Linked DNA regions of Homo sapiens: all the other regions are linked to region 1. Evidence: promoter capture Hi-C in 16 types of primary human blood cells and fetal thymus (Javierre and others, 2016). All regions are on one chromosome and are shown on one strand. The core of a region is centred on a gene start or on the middle of the fragment in contact, and the rest is flanking DNA. Distances in the headings are between cores, read along the strand shown.

The links. The method cuts DNA at HindIII sites, captures the fragments that hold promoters and counts their contacts. A CHiCAGO score of 5 or more calls a contact.
Region 2: a contact is called between a fragment that was not itself captured here and the fragment with the promoter of ZFP3 in region 1, in 2 of 17 cell types (naive B cells and total B cells). The highest score is 5.5, in naive B cells.
Region 3: a contact is called between a fragment that was not itself captured here and the fragment with the promoter of ZFP3 in region 1, in 2 of 17 cell types (naive B cells and total B cells). The highest score is 8.3, in naive B cells.
Region 4: a fragment that was not itself captured here is called in contact with the fragment with the promoter of ZFP3 in region 1 in 1 of 17 cell types (total B cells); the score reaches 5.4 in total B cells.

What each region holds. Positions count from the first base shown.
Region 1 is chr17:5,076,511-5,080,191 of GRCh38, reverse strand. ZFP3 (ZFP3 zinc finger protein) reads right to left here and starts at 1,725. Exons shown (of 2, transcript NM_153018.3): 1 at 1,617-1,725. It overlaps ZFP3-DT (ZFP3 divergent transcript), which reads left to right and starts at 2,079. Exons shown (of 2, transcript NR_186458.1): 1 at 2,079-2,305. RefSeq lists enhancers at 1,949-2,018, 1,386-2,257. The HindIII fragment of the contact is 11,376 bases long and covers 1-2,390 here.
Region 2 is chr17:5,329,380-5,333,060 of GRCh38, reverse strand. It overlaps RABEP1 (rabaptin, RAB GTPase binding effector protein 1), which reads right to left. Exons shown (of 18, transcript NM_004703.6): 3 at 909-1,112. Among named protein-coding and RNA genes, the nearest start is that of RABEP1, 49 kb to the right of the region's middle. The HindIII fragment of the contact is 8,927 bases long and covers 1-3,681 here.
Region 3 is chr17:5,307,498-5,311,178 of GRCh38, reverse strand. It overlaps RABEP1 (rabaptin, RAB GTPase binding effector protein 1), which reads right to left. Exons shown (of 18, transcript NM_004703.6): 2 at 2,357-2,485. Among named protein-coding and RNA genes, the nearest start is that of RABEP1, 27 kb to the right of the region's middle. The HindIII fragment of the contact is 1,710 bases long and covers 888-2,597 here.
Region 4 is chr17:5,286,676-5,290,356 of GRCh38, reverse strand. The region is part of intron 1 of RABEP1 (rabaptin, RAB GTPase binding effector protein 1); the gene reads right to left. Among named protein-coding and RNA genes, the nearest start is that of RABEP1, 6.2 kb to the right of the region's middle. The HindIII fragment of the contact is 1,406 bases long and covers 965-2,370 here.

The DNA of each region.
Region 1 (3,681 bases), core at 476-2,975:
TTCCATATATTATTGCCTGTACCTGCTGCTGCCATCTCACTACCAGCCTGTGGATGAGGGCAGCTAAAGCTCAGAAAAACAAGGGAGATGCTGCCAGGGCCACTGGATTAATCAGTCCTGAAACCACGATACCTATTTTTTTTTTTTTCTTTGGAGATGGAGCCTCGCTCTGTCTCCCAGGCTGGAGTGCAATGGCGCAATCTTGGCTCACCGCAACCTCCGCCTCCCAGGCTCAGGCGATTCTCCCACCTCAGCCTCCCAAGCAGCTGGTATTACAGGCATCTGCCACCACGCCTGGCTAATTTTGTATTTCTAGTAGAGACAGGGTTTCACCATGTTGGCCAGGCTGGTCTCGAGCTCCTGACCTCAGGTGATCCGCCCACCTTTGCCTCCCAAAGTGCTGGGATTACAGGCATGAGCCATCACGCCCAGCTGACCCCCTCCATTTTCTTCCCTGACCCCCAGGCTCTAAGGCAGACAGCTACTCCTTCACCTTGTAGCAGCTACCCCACTGCATTATTAATTTTTCATACCTATTTTCTTCTCTAGACCATAAGCAAGGATGCTGTTCCATTCATCCTGGTATTCTGAGTACCTAGCATATTTCAGATACCTGGTAAATGTTAAGTGAATTTGTGTAACTGTCTTATATATATAATGAATCTGCAATACCTCCCTTTTTTCTGAGACAGGGTCTTGGCTCTATTGCCCAGACTCACTGCAGCTTCAACTTCCCAGGCTCAAGAAAATCCTCCCACCTCAGCCTCCCAAGTAGCTGGGACTACAAGCATGCGCCACCACACCCAACTACCCAACTAATTTCTTTGTTTTTTGTACAGATGGTGTCTCACTATGTTGCCCAGGCTGGTCTTGAACTCCTGTGCTCAAGTGATCCTCCCGCCTAGGCCTCCCAAAATGCTGGGATTACAGGCATGAGCCACTGCACCCAGCCTCTGTAATACTCTTGATGGCTAACTGGATATTTCATTCATCATTATATCTAAAGAGCCTAGGATAGTGTCTGACACATAGCTGGTGTCGATAACTGTTTGTAAAAATAAGTTCCTTTTCCCAATCTGGGTGATATTTAATTTATGGCACTGTTAACCTCCTTTCCTCTCTTCTCCCTCTGACCCACAATAGGGCTCTATCTTTGCAGCTCAAACCTGTCTCCTTTTCACGACCACCCCTCATAAGCCAATATCTTGTCTGGCAGCACAGGGCACAATCTGCCACTAGGGCGTTAAGTTTGTGACACTGCCCGCCATTTCGTCCTAGCGGTTTACTTGGGGGTGGAATGTCTGAGAAAACCACAGCTCCCACGGGTCCCCACCTCGGTACAGAAGGGAGTGTCCCTGCTTCTCCCACCCCCACGGCTGACAGGCACCAAACCAGAGCTGGGACTGTCCCTGGCGGTGTCCAGGCCCCACCCTCTCTGTGTGCAGGTGGAAATGAAGGCCTGGGGGCGGGGGGAATGGAGGGAGGCATAAACTTCAAGGTCACACAGCGAACCCCGGTCAGAACGGGCCTAAACGTAGGGTTTCCGCTCGGCTCTCTAGGGAGCTGGGAGCCCAGCCCCCGCCTACCCCCACAGCCGCGACGGAATGAGGTCTCACCGCAGGCCGCTACTGCCCCGCGCTCGCTCACTCCGCTGAGGCTCCGCGCTGCTGGGCCGCTCGCACAGAGCCCGCAGCTGTTGTCCCGGTGTCACTGGCGACGGGCATCGGCCACTTCCGGTACCCGGGCGGCACTCCAGCCAATCGGCGCGCGTCGCACTCCGCTGGAGGAACAGGTGGTCAGCGCACCGACGCCCCCTTGCCTTTTCCGGCTTGCTTTTCGCCGGTTCTAGCCCTAGCCCAAGTTCCACGTCGCCGCCGCCTGCCGAGCCGGCTCCCTGGAACAGCAAAGTGCACCCGTCGATGCCCACTTCAGCCCCGGAATCATTGACGACCTGAGTCCTCCGGGTTTCCTAGAACGGCTCCGGGGATGAACTTCCGCTCCGCGATCTGCCGCTCTGCGCCCTCGTGTCGCTCCCCAAGCATTGCTCTAGGCTCAAGAACTCGAGAATCCGCTTCGCATTCCCGCGGGGACCGTTTGCGCGACCCTTTTAACTCTCCCAACCCGCATCGTTCTTATCCCATCCTTCCTTTCCACAGACTCCGTGGGTCTGATAAGCACAGGGCTGCAGATCCTGGGAACAGGTCTCTCCTCGGCGGGAGCGAAGGGAGACATGCTTTGAGTTCCGGAAGGGCTTGCAGGAGTGACGTTTGGCCTGAAATCTCAAGATTGCGTGGGAATTACCAAGGTTAAGAGTAAAGGCCTAGGTTAAGCTGCCGAGGCCACGGAAACAGCATTCTGCAGCTAGCCTTCCTGGGTTCCCTGAGCAAGCTTGGCCCATTCTCACCTCAGAACCTTTCCTTGTTACTTCCTCTGTAATTTTGCACAGCCAGCTTGTTTTCTTGTTTGTTTGTTTTTTGAGATGGAGTTTCGCTCTTGTTGTCCAGGCTGGAGTGCGATGGCGCCATCTCCGCTCACCGCAACCTCCGCCTCCCGGATTCAAGCGATTCTCCTACTTCAGCCTCCCCGAGTAACTGGGATTACAAGCATGTGCCACCACGCCCGGCTAATTTTGTATTTTAGGTAGAGACGGGTTTTCTCCATTTTGGTCAGGCTGGTCTCGAACTCCCGACCTCAGGTGATCCGGCCGCCTCGGCCTCCCAAAGTGCTGGGATTACAGACATGAGCCACCGCGCCCGGCCTCCAGCTTGTTTTTGTTTGTTTTTTGAGGCGGAGTTTCGCTCTTGTCGCCAAGGCTGGAGTGCAATGGCACGATCTCTGCTCACTGCAACCTCCACCTCCCGGGTTCAAGCGATTCTCCAGCCTCAGCCTCCAGAGTAGCTGGGATTACAAGTGCCAGCCACCACGCCCGGCTAATTTTTGTATTTTTAGTAGAGACGGGGTTTCACCATGTTGGTCAGGCTGGTCTCGAACTTCTGACCTTAGGTCAGACCTTAGGCCCACCTTGGCCTCCCAAAGTGCTGGGATTACAGGCGTGAGCTACCGCGTCCAGCCAGCCAGTTTGTTTTTAGGTGTCAGTTCCAAGATCACCACATTGAAGACTTTCATTCTATATAATGTTGCCTCAGAGTACACTATCCTTCCCAAATATCAGTTACAAAGGACTATGATTAGCCCTGTTTGGGTCTGGTGCTCAACCATGGACCAATCAAGGGGGAAAGGACCGTGTGATTTACCAAGCCTGGTCACCTGCCTTCCCGCAAGGATGACGGCGGGCTTCTGTGTTTGCCTCACCATAATCCTATGAAATAGGGAAAGGAGTGACCACCCTTAGAAGGGAATATTGTGTTTGTATGCCACACACAATCTAGCAGAAAGAAAACTTTCTCTTGAATTCATCATTGCCATTAGGCCCTAGACTCTAGGGTCCATCACTTTAGCCACTCTGGTACTAAAATCCTTAACTCCCTTGCCCTACTGTCTGCAACTGCATGGGAAGTTTGTTAACTCTGATTCAATCAGAATATCTATTTTCCGGCCGGGCGTGGTGGCTCATGCATGTGATCCCAGTACTTTGGGAGGCTGAGGCAGACAGATCACAAGGTCAGGAGTTCGAAACCAGCCTGGCCAAAATGGTGAAACCCATCTCTATTAAAAGTACAA
Region 2 (3,681 bases), core at 1,182-3,681, 250 kb before region 1:
AAAAGGAGTCTGAGACTAAACTACGTCTCTTCTTTTAGACGAAAGGTCATAAGCTGGCAGCCCATGAAGCCTACCTTAGCCCATAGGCCATTCTACCCAACAGAGTGCAGTGAAGATTTCACATACAAAGTTTCTTAAAAAATCTAAACCAGGCCAGGCGCTGTGGCTCACACATGTAATCCCAGGACTTTGGGAGGCCGAGGCAGGTGGATCACCTGAGGTCTCAGGAGTTCAAGACCAGCCTGACCAACATGGCGAAATCCCGTCTCTACTAAAAATACAAAATTAGCTGGGCGTGGTGGCACATGCTTGTAATCCCAGCTACTCGGGAGGCTGAGGCAGGAGAATCGCTTGAGCCCGGGAGGCAGAGGTTGCAGCGAGTACAGTGAGCTGAGACTGCGCCACTGCACTCCAAGCTGGACAACAGAGCGAGATTCCATCTCAAAAAAAAAAAAAAAAAAAAATTCTAAAACGTATGGCCAAACTACACTGGAAGGGCAATAATTAGCTGAAGCTCATCAATGTAAACAGTTACTTTACCCTTTGCATGGCAGCTCTCTCTACTCCAGCACATTCCCTGTGCCCATACAGCTTAATTATTTGAGATTACTAGCCTGCCTCCTAGAAGAAATCGACTTTTAAGCCTTACAATGAACTATAGTCCTCATTTAATGCATTATCTCTATAACATCCCTATTATAACTCTCCATTATTAAGTTAGATACGATTGATATATCCATTTATGTTATTAGTGACTTCTCTTTTATCTGAAAGTATATCTTGATGATGACAGTACATAAAACCACAAATGAAACTCTGTATATATTTTAAGATTCTCTGAAAATATTCTCAATCATCAGAATCGGATATCTTAGAAAATCACAAAATTGATCTTTCTCTGTCTTTACCTTTCATAACAGCCTGAAGTGAAGCAACTTCTTCTCTCCACTGTCTTTTCACTTCATCTATAGCTTCTTGCTTGGTGTTCTCAGAGACTGTGGCAATCGCCTTAATATTCTCCATCTCTGCTTGAGCTTCCCACAGCTGGGTTCGAAGGTGTCCCAAATCATCTTGTGCAGCTTGTAATACTGCATTTTGCCTCTTCAGATCCTCTGGAGAGAAAAGTAAAAGATAGTCCATTAATGTTCACTTTGATCAGACTGGCATTCCAATAAAGAAATAAGGTATTAAATTTTAAAATATAAACATACAAAATGACACCCTTTTAATAGAGGTGAGATTTAAGGTAAGCTGGGTATCACAAATCAATTGTTACTATCTATCTAATGATCCAGTAGTTACAGTCATGGTTTTAGAGCTCAATTTACGCATTCCCGTCTGCTGACTAAATGAACTTGGTCATGTTATTTAATCTCTCTGGCCTAAGTTTCCACATCTGCAAAATGGAAGTTAAAAACAGCCACCTCACAAGGTTGTTGTAATGATAATTTATTGGAAACGCTAATTAGTACATTACCTTCCACAAACATTCAAAAAATGTTTAATAAAAGAGAAAAGAAAGCCAGAGCACATGGCAGTGACTAGACGTATGTTCTTTAAAGTTAGCATTAATTTCTCGGCTCCCTCTTACCATCTTTTAAATACTAAGTTGATGTAATGTGCCTACTACATGGTTTAAGCCCAGGCAGAACATATGTTTGGCCAAACTAACTTCAAAAAAAAGATGAACTTATCAACAGTATACAGGGATGTGTGATTGTTTTCCCATACCCTTAACAACAGTCACTATTTTCCATCTTTTAAAAATTCTTGTAAATATCATGGGTAGCAAATGGTCACTTTAATCTACATTTTCCCTGTTAATAAGGAGTTTGAGCATCTTCTCATATATGTACTAGTGACTCATTTCCTCTTTGGTGACATTCTTTACATTTGCTTCTAATGAATGATTTTCCTTCTGATCTGTAAGAGCATTTTATATATTCTGGATATTAAGTCTGTCTTCTCTTACAAAACTTTTCCCAGTCAGCCGCTGTGTTTCTTTAAAAAAAAAAAAAAAAAAAAAAAAAAAAGTTAAGAGATAGGGTCTCAATTGTCGCACAGGCTGGAGTGCAGTGACGCAAACATAGACCACTATAACCTCAAATTCCTGGGCTCAAGCGATCCCCCCACCTCAGCCTCCTGAGTAGCTAGGACTGCAGGCATGCACCATCACGCCCGGCTAATTTTTGAAATTTCTTGTAGAGACAAAGTTTCACTACGCTGCCCAGGCTGGTCTTGGCCTCCTGGGCTGAAATGATCCTCCCGCCTCAGCCTCCCAAAGCGTTGGGATTACAGGTGTGAGCCACCGCGCCCGGCCTTAACTTACGCCTTTTAGCATCTAAAGTTGTAAGGTATTTATGAAAAAAAAAATTCTTCATCTTTGTAAAAGTATCAATTTCCTCTCCAAAGCACAATAACTGAGCCAAACTGACCATGAAAATAAACTGATTTAAGGTCTAATTCTACCGCTAACCAGCTGTATGACTTTAAGGAAATCACAAGATTCTCAAGCCTCAGTTTCCTCATGAAGACAGTGGCAATACTTTCTTGCATAAATTTCTAACTACTTATAAAAATCCAATAGTAAAATAAGAGAACTTTTAAACGTTGTGAAATGTTCATTGTTATCACAGGAGTTAATGATTTGGTAGTCAAAGTCACAGAGGGAAACACCTAGTCATGCTAAGTTGTTTTGAAATCTTTACTCTCTCAACATCAGTTTCCATCACTCTTAAAATATTTTGAATCTCTAGCCAAAGACAGTTTTAAGAACATTAATTAAAAAAGTAATTGTGTGAAGTCCCTTAAAGACAGACACCTGGGAAGTTGTGGTAGGCATGCAAATAGACAGACCCAGAAAGATGTAAACACGTGAAACCACAAAGGAAAAGTTTATGTGTGTCAACTCTGTATTCTGAGTGTTAAACTGTTTCATAAAATGTGAAAAAAGAAAAAGCATTATTTCTGGGATACTTTATTCATTTTTGGGTACTACAATTTTATCAAGGCTCAAGTTTATACACTTAACAGGTCCTCATGCTAATTACCTCTGGTACTTTTGATTTGCTGGAGATTACCCAGAGCTATTCACTACCATGTTGTCATTATGAACAGAAAAACTGTAAACAAATACCAAGCCTAAATATCCATTTTTGGCACTTAAAAGTGAAATAGAGAGCCTGGAGGAAGACTTGGTCAACAGTAACTTTAGTTATATATATATATATATATATATATATGAACATATATATGAATGTTATATTTATATATATAAATACAAAAAAACAGGAGACAGAAATTTAAAATAAAGTTAGAAAATCTTAATTTTTTGTAGTAAAGCATTTCAAACATTATGTTTGCCAACAGTAGGAGTTCTAACATTCGTTTATTGCTTTTACTGCTGTATATGTAATTATTAAGATTTTCAAACATATTCAAAAGTTGAGGGTATACTACAACAATCCTTCATATAGCTTTCACCAAGACTCAAAAGGTATTAAGATTTGCCATGCTTATTTATTTTTTTGAGACGGAGTCTCGCTCTTGTTGCCCAGGCTAGAGTGCAGTGGCACGATCTTGGCTCACTGCAACCTCTGCCTCCCGGGTTCAACAGATTGTCCTGCTTCAGCCTCCCAAGTAGCTGGGATTACAGGCGCGTGCCACCACGCCCAGCTAATT
Region 3 (3,681 bases), core at 493-2,992, 230 kb before region 1:
GTCTCTGAGGGGGGAAGCCAGTAATCCTTGTTTTAACGAACCCTATTAGGTAATTCAAATGCACACGCAAGCCCATTGTGGTGGCTCACGCCTGTAATCCCAGCACTCTGGGAGGCCGAGGCAGGCGGATCATCTGAGGTCAGGAGTTCGAGACCAGCCTGGCCAACATGGTGAGACCCCGTCTCTACTAGAAATACAAAAATTAGCAGGGCGTGGTGGCACACACCTGTAGCCCCAGCTACTAGGGAGGCTAAGGCACAAGAGTCGCTTGAACCCAGGAGGCGGAGGTTGCAGTGAGCCAAGATCACACCACTGCACTTCAGCCTGGACAACACAGCGAGACTCGGTCTCAAAAAAAAAAAAAAATGAATGAAACAAATGCACACTCAAGTTTCAAAACCATTTTTAAGAAAAAAATTCTAAAGGAGATGTAAAGAAGAAAACCCAACGCAAGGAGGAAAACCACTGTAAAATTTCGGCTATAAAGCTATTCATGTGTTTGTTAAACAGATAACAATGGATAAATCACTGATATTTTCATTCCACTGGATATGTTTAAAAGCAGGAAGTTGGCCAGGCGTGGTGGCTCACCCAGCACTTTGGGAGGCCGAAGCGGGCGGATCACAAGGTCAGGAGTTTGAGACCAGCCTGACCAACATGGTGAAACCCCGTCTCTACTAAAAATACAAAAATTAGCCGGGCATGGTGGCACACACCTGTAATCCCAGCTACTCGGGAGGCTGGGGCAGGGCAGGAGAATCACTTGAATATGGGAGGCGGAGGTTGTAGTGAGCTGAGATAGTGCCACTGAACTCCAGCCTGCGTGACAGGGGAAGATGTCGGGGGAGACTCCCATCTCAAAAAAAAAAAAAAAAAAGGACGAAGCTTTCATTTAAATTGTAAATATCAACAATATAAAATTTTATCCTTCACATCTTTTCAAGCAAAAAATTTTAAACATCAACTTTAACATGTATGAAGGTTGTATGTAAGTATATATTTTACAGAGTTCATAAGTTAAAAAAGGTGCATGATCACTAGTCCAGAACAGGATTTTTCAAACTGTAGTACTTGAACTAGCAGTAACTGGAATCATCTATGAGCTTATTAGAAATGCAAATTTCTGGGCTCCACCCAAACATACTGTGGTTTAACAAGCTCTCCAGGTGATTTTTATCCACATTTGAATTTGAGAGCCACTATTCTATTATAGACTAGAGCAGTTTTCAAAATTTAGTGTGCAGCTGGACCCAAATCCCACAGTTTCTAACTCAGTAAATCTGGGTGGGACCCAAACATTTGCATTTCTAACAACTTTCCCAGGTGATGATGACGATAATGATGCTGTTCCACAATCACACTTTGAGAATCACTGGTCTAGAGAGCTGTGGAAACTACATTCACATTATTCTAGGTCGATACTCAGAAGGTAAGCCCCTTCCCTGATCCTTCAAATCAGGTCCCCCAACATGTTCTCTCATGTATTTTCCTTATACAGTTTCTTTTTCTTTTTTTTTTTTTTTTGAGATGGGAGTTTCACTCTTGTCGCCCACGCTGGAGTGCAATGGCGCAATCTCAGCTCACCTCAACGTCTGCCTCCTGGGTTCAAGCAATTCTTCTGCCTCAGCCTCCCGAGCAGCTGGGATTACAGGCATGCGCCACCATGCCCAGCTAATTTTGTATTTTTAGTACAGACAGGGTTTCTCCATGTTGGCCAGGCTGGACTTGAACTCCCGACCTCAGGTGATCCGCCCCCGCCCGTTGGCCTCCCAAAGTGCTGGGATTACAGGTGTGAGCCACCGCGCCCAGCCTGCAATTTCCTGTTTTAACGACTCATCACACAATTACTTAACATCTGTTTTGCTCATTGAGTTCAACCAAGTTAAAGAACCACATGAATTTTCCTCTTTCTGTATACCCAACACAAGTATAATGTCTGCCTCATAGTAGATATTAAATAAATATTTATTGATAAATAACTGAATATTTGTTGGGTAAAACTGATGTTTCATGGAATTAAAGATAACATAGCTAAAGCTGTTATTAGAATGCCAACAATCCTAGTTTGCCCACAACTGTATCCCAAATGTTAAGAGCAATAACATTCTCTTATCTCAAGGCTATGCAACCTAAATATGAACAGTAAGATCAAAAAACAAGGCAAAATCTGAAGAAGGCATTTTTCAACTTGTTTTTCAATCCCATTCTTAACCTAGCCTTTAAACAGTATTCTTTTATTATGCAAGTACAAATAAAATCAAGGTTTATTCAATGATAAAATTAACACTACTACCAAGAAACTCAACACTTTAAGGCAGTTTTCGCATTGAAGTTGGTGCGAGACTTATGAACTTACCCTCTTTAGCCAAATATAACTCCTTAAATTTTGCTCTCTTTTGATTAAATTCTTGTTCAAGCTGCTGTTGTGCACGTAAAAATTCTGCATTAATTTTTTCCAATTCTGCTACCCGTTGCTGAAGAGAAACTGGGGGAAAAAAACACTAGTTAACAAGTAATAACTTTTATTCATAAATTTATAAAACAGTAAATTAGTATTCTAGCTGTACATTGCTATACGTGAAACAAGTAGTCAAGCTTCTTCCAAAAATCCACCATATGCTAGGATATTCTAATGTTTAAAAAAAGTAAGACAGACCAGGCATGGTGGCTCACGCCTGTAATCCCAGCACTTTGGGAGGCCGAGGCGGGCGGATCACCCGAGGTCAGGAGTTCGAGACCAGCCTGGCCGACATGGAGAAATCCCATCTCTATTAAAAATACAAAAATTAGCCAGGTGTAGTGGCAGGTGCCTGTAATCCCAGCTACTCAGGAGGCTGAGGCAGGAGAATCGCTTGAACCCGGGAGGCGGAGGTTGCAGTGGGCCGAGATCGCACCACTGCACTCTAGCCTGGGTGACAGAGTGAGACTCTGTCTCAAAAAAAAAAAAAAAGATCCTTGTATTAGACTTAATACACAACTGTAAATGAGTCATGTAAAGTGAAACCACAAATATACAGAGAATCACATAAGGCCAACTTCCCCACAAAAAAAAGAGCTTCTAAAGTGCCTTTGTGCAACTGAATAGCAATTTAATTTTAGAACTGTTAAATATTGGATTATTTGAACTACTTATCCCACAAATGAACCTACTGCCAATCTTGCTATTTCCCATTTCTCTCAAGTGTCACAAGCAAAATCTAATAGGTTCCCTAACTAGTGTAGCCATACCAGACTGAACTATTCTTCCAACTTCAAAATGATCCATTACCATTATACTGAGATCATAATCAAAAACCCATTCATAGAGAGGATACAGAACTGCACATTCTATATAAACTCTCAATTACTGGGAGATAATCTGGTTTTCTTCCATGTTTTCAACATTGATCATGGTGTGCGGAGATTAGCAGACTTTTTACTTTATGGACTCTATAATTTGGACACAGCTGGTTAAATGATTGCCTTCCCTGACCAAACCCAGGGGTTCCTTTGATTGAAGCATAAGATAGGAGGTCCAGCTGTGCAAACCCCTGATCTCCCCTTTTGCCCCAACAGCATCCCAGCCTTAAAGCTATGACCATAATCCCTTTAGGGGATATCGGTTAGTACTAATCAACCACTAACTACTTAGGCCAGCAGAGGGCCAAGTTTCCTACTGCAAGTCACTCCAGATAATGATGA
Region 4 (3,681 bases), core at 418-2,917, 210 kb before region 1:
CAGCATTTTGGGAGGCCAAGGCGAGTGGATCACGAGGTCAGGAGAGCGAGACCATCCTGGCTAACACGGTGAAACCCCGTCTCTACTAAAAATACAAAAAAATTAGCCGGGTGTGGTGGCGGGCGCCTGTAGTCCCAACTACTTGGGAGGCTGAGGCAGGAGAATGGCGTGAACCCAGGAGGCGGAGCTTGCAGTGAGCTGAGATCGTGCCACTGCACTCTAGCCTGGGCGACAGAGCGAGACTCCATCTCAAAAAATAAATAAATACTTCTATAAAGACAATATTCAAATTAATGACTACATAAGAAGAGAACATCAAACTTCAGTGGATAAAAACCTAGCATATGATAAATGGAGATATTTTAGAAATTAGAGCCCTTAAGATTCAAAAGCAATTCTCTCCACAGAAAGCCAGGTAAGACATGAAAATTAAAGGCCATTACCTAATTCCAGGCTACTGTGTGTTGGGATATCAGAGTGACAAAGACAGTGGATAAGTGCAGGGCTTTTGTTTTTCAGATTAAGTATCTCTGCTAGTTCAAAGGTTGGGAGATTTACCAAGTTATAATTTACAAACAAAAACATGAACTATTGAATAAACGTTAAGACAACTATCTATCTATTCAGAAAAAAAAATAAAGGGTGCTCTGCCTCAGCCCTGGAAGCGAGACTGTTCCTTATGTCTACTAGTCTTGTATTCTTTAGGGTTTTCTTTTGTCTTAGTGGGTGATCTCCAGTTTAGTTAATAATTCTTTATATTAAACTTCTCTAATTTAAAAATAAATAAATTGCAAATGGATTGGACTACAAAATATAAAAAACCACAAGTGTTGAAAATGATAAGGTTTTTTCTCTTTAAATAAACATGAGAGTTGGGGAGGTCTTCCTCAGCAAAATAAGAAACCCAGAAACCATAAATTTAAAAAAAAAAAAAAAAGGTCAGATCTACATAAAAATTAAAGCTTTCTGCATAACAAAAAATTTTTAAAACGAGGTAAATGACAAACTGTGAGACCAAAATTTGCAACACATACCAAAGGGCTAATATAATTTACAAAGAGCTCCTCCAAATTACTGAGAAAAGGACAACCCAATGGAAAAATGGGAAACAGATATAAACAGACAAGCCACAAAAGAAAGATGTGAAACAGCAACTCATAGTAGAAGAGAAAAGGAAGAGGAAGAAGAAGAAGAAAGGGAGGGAGGAAGGGAGGGCAAGCAAAAAAAGAAAAAAATGAAAGAAAGAAAAAAATGGATGAAAGGAAGGAAGCAAGCCAGCCAGCCAATAAACAAAGAGGCCATAATTAATATAATTCCTATCCTGGAAGTGCAAATTAAAAAGCCACACTTCAACCAGGCACAGTGGCTCACTCCTATAATCCCAGCACTTTGGGAGGCCAAGGAGGGTGGATAAATTGAGAACAGGAGATCAAGACCAGCCCGGCCAACATGGTGAAACCCTGTCTCTACTAAATATACAAAAAAATGAGCCAGGTGTAGTGGTGCACGCCTGTAATCCCAGCTACTTGAGGGGCTGAGGCACGAGAATCGCCTGAACCTGGGAGGCAGAGGTTACAGTGAGCAGAGATCACACCACTGCACTCCAGCCTGGGCAACACAGCAAGACTTGGTCTCAAAAAAATAAAGAAAAGAAATAAAATAGGCCAGGCGCAGTGGCTCACGCCTGTAATCCCAGCACTTTGGGAGGCCAAGGCGGATGCATCATCTGAGGTCAGGAGTTAGAGGCCAGCCTGACGAACATGGCGAAACCTCATCTCTACTAAAAATATAAAATTAGCCGAGCATGGCAGCACATGCCTGTAATCCCAGCTACTTGGGAGGCTGAGGCAGGAGAATCACTTGAACCTGGGAGGTAGAGGTTCCAGTGAGCCGAGATAGTGCCACTGCACTCTAGCCTGGGCGACTGAGCGAGATTCCATCTCAAAAAATAAATAAATAAAATAAAATAAAAAGCCACACATCATCTACCTGCTTAAAACCCTTCAGTGGGTTCCCGTACACCTCTAAGGAAAAAGACCCCTCAGGCCAGCCCATACCTACTCCTCTACCCAGGCACAGTGACCTTTCTTCAGTTATGTTACTCGTTCTGCATCCTCCAAAACCAGGAGTCCTGCTCATCCATCAGATCTCGGCTCCAGGACTACTTCATCAAAAGCCTTTACTGACCTCTGTATATTGGTCAAATAAGTCAGTTATAGGCATTCATAGCATTGTGTTCATCTAGTTGCTCAGGCCAAACACCTTTGAGTAATCCTTGACTACTCAGTTTCTTTTGCATCCCATATTCAATCCGTCAGCAAATCCTGTTGGCCATACTTTCAAAATATAACCTCCATCCTGGTCCAAGCTTCAACATCTTTTTTCTGGATTCATACCTCCCTATTACTCCACTGCCAATCCAGCAGTCAGAGTGATTTTTTTTTTGAGACAGGGTCTTACTCTGTCACCTAGGTGGGAGTGAAGTAGCAAGATCACAGCTCACTGCAGCCTCGACCTCCCAGGCTTAGGTGATCCTCCCACCTCAGCCTCCTGAGTAGCTGGGACTAGAGGCACAGGCCATCACACCCGGCTAATTTTTTGTAGAGATGCGGTTTTGCCATATTGCCCAGGCTGGTCTCAAACTCCTGGGCTCAAGCAATCCACCCACCTAGGCCTCCCAAAGTGTTGAGATTACAGGTATGAGACAACACCACGCCCGCTCAGTGTTTTGGGTTTTTTTTTTTTTTTTTTTTTTTTTGCGACAGAGTCTCACTCTGTTGCCCAGGCTGGAGCACGGTGGCATGATCTTCGCCCACTGCAACCTCCACCTCCCAGGTTCAAGCAATTCTCCTGCCTCAGCCTCCCAAGTAGCTGGGATTACAGGCGCGTGCCACCATGTCTGACTAATTTTTGTATTTTTAGTAGAGATTGGGTTTCACCATGTTGGCCAGGCTGGTCTGGAACTCCTGACCTCAGGTGATCCACCTGCCTCAGACTCCCAAAGTGCTGGGATTACAGGCGTGAGCCTGTATACTGTTTGTCAGGCACAATTCTAGGCATGAGCCACCTCGCCTGTAATCCCAGCACTTTGGCCCAGAGTGATTTTTTTAAAACATAAGTGAGATCACATCATTCCTCTGTTCAAAGCTTTTCAATGGTTCCCCATAGTGAAAACCAATCTTTGCAATACTTCTAGGGCCCAAGAAGATCTGCCTCCACCTCGTTACCTCTCTGACCTCATATCCTACTACACTCTTGCCCCAGGCCCCGTAACATCATTCCAGCCAGACTGACCTCCATGCCATTACTCAAACATGCCAGACATGCTTCCGCCCTCAAGGCATATGCAAAAACTGATCCCTGCCTAGAACACCCTTCCACCAGATATCCTCAAGGCTAACTCCTCTATCTACTTCAAGTCTTTGCACAAATGTCATCTTCTCAATAAAGCTGCCTGACCAGCCTATTTAAAACCAGCCCCACCCCCTTCCCTTTCTCCTGCTCTGTTTTCTTTTTTCCATTGCACTTATCATCTAACAACCCGTATCATTTGCTTACGTTTGTTGTTTAATATCCGTTTCTCCCACACTAGGGCAGGGTTATTTATTATCTATATTGCCTACTGATGTATTCCAAATGCCTAGAATTGTGCCTGACAAACAGTATGCATTCATATTAGAT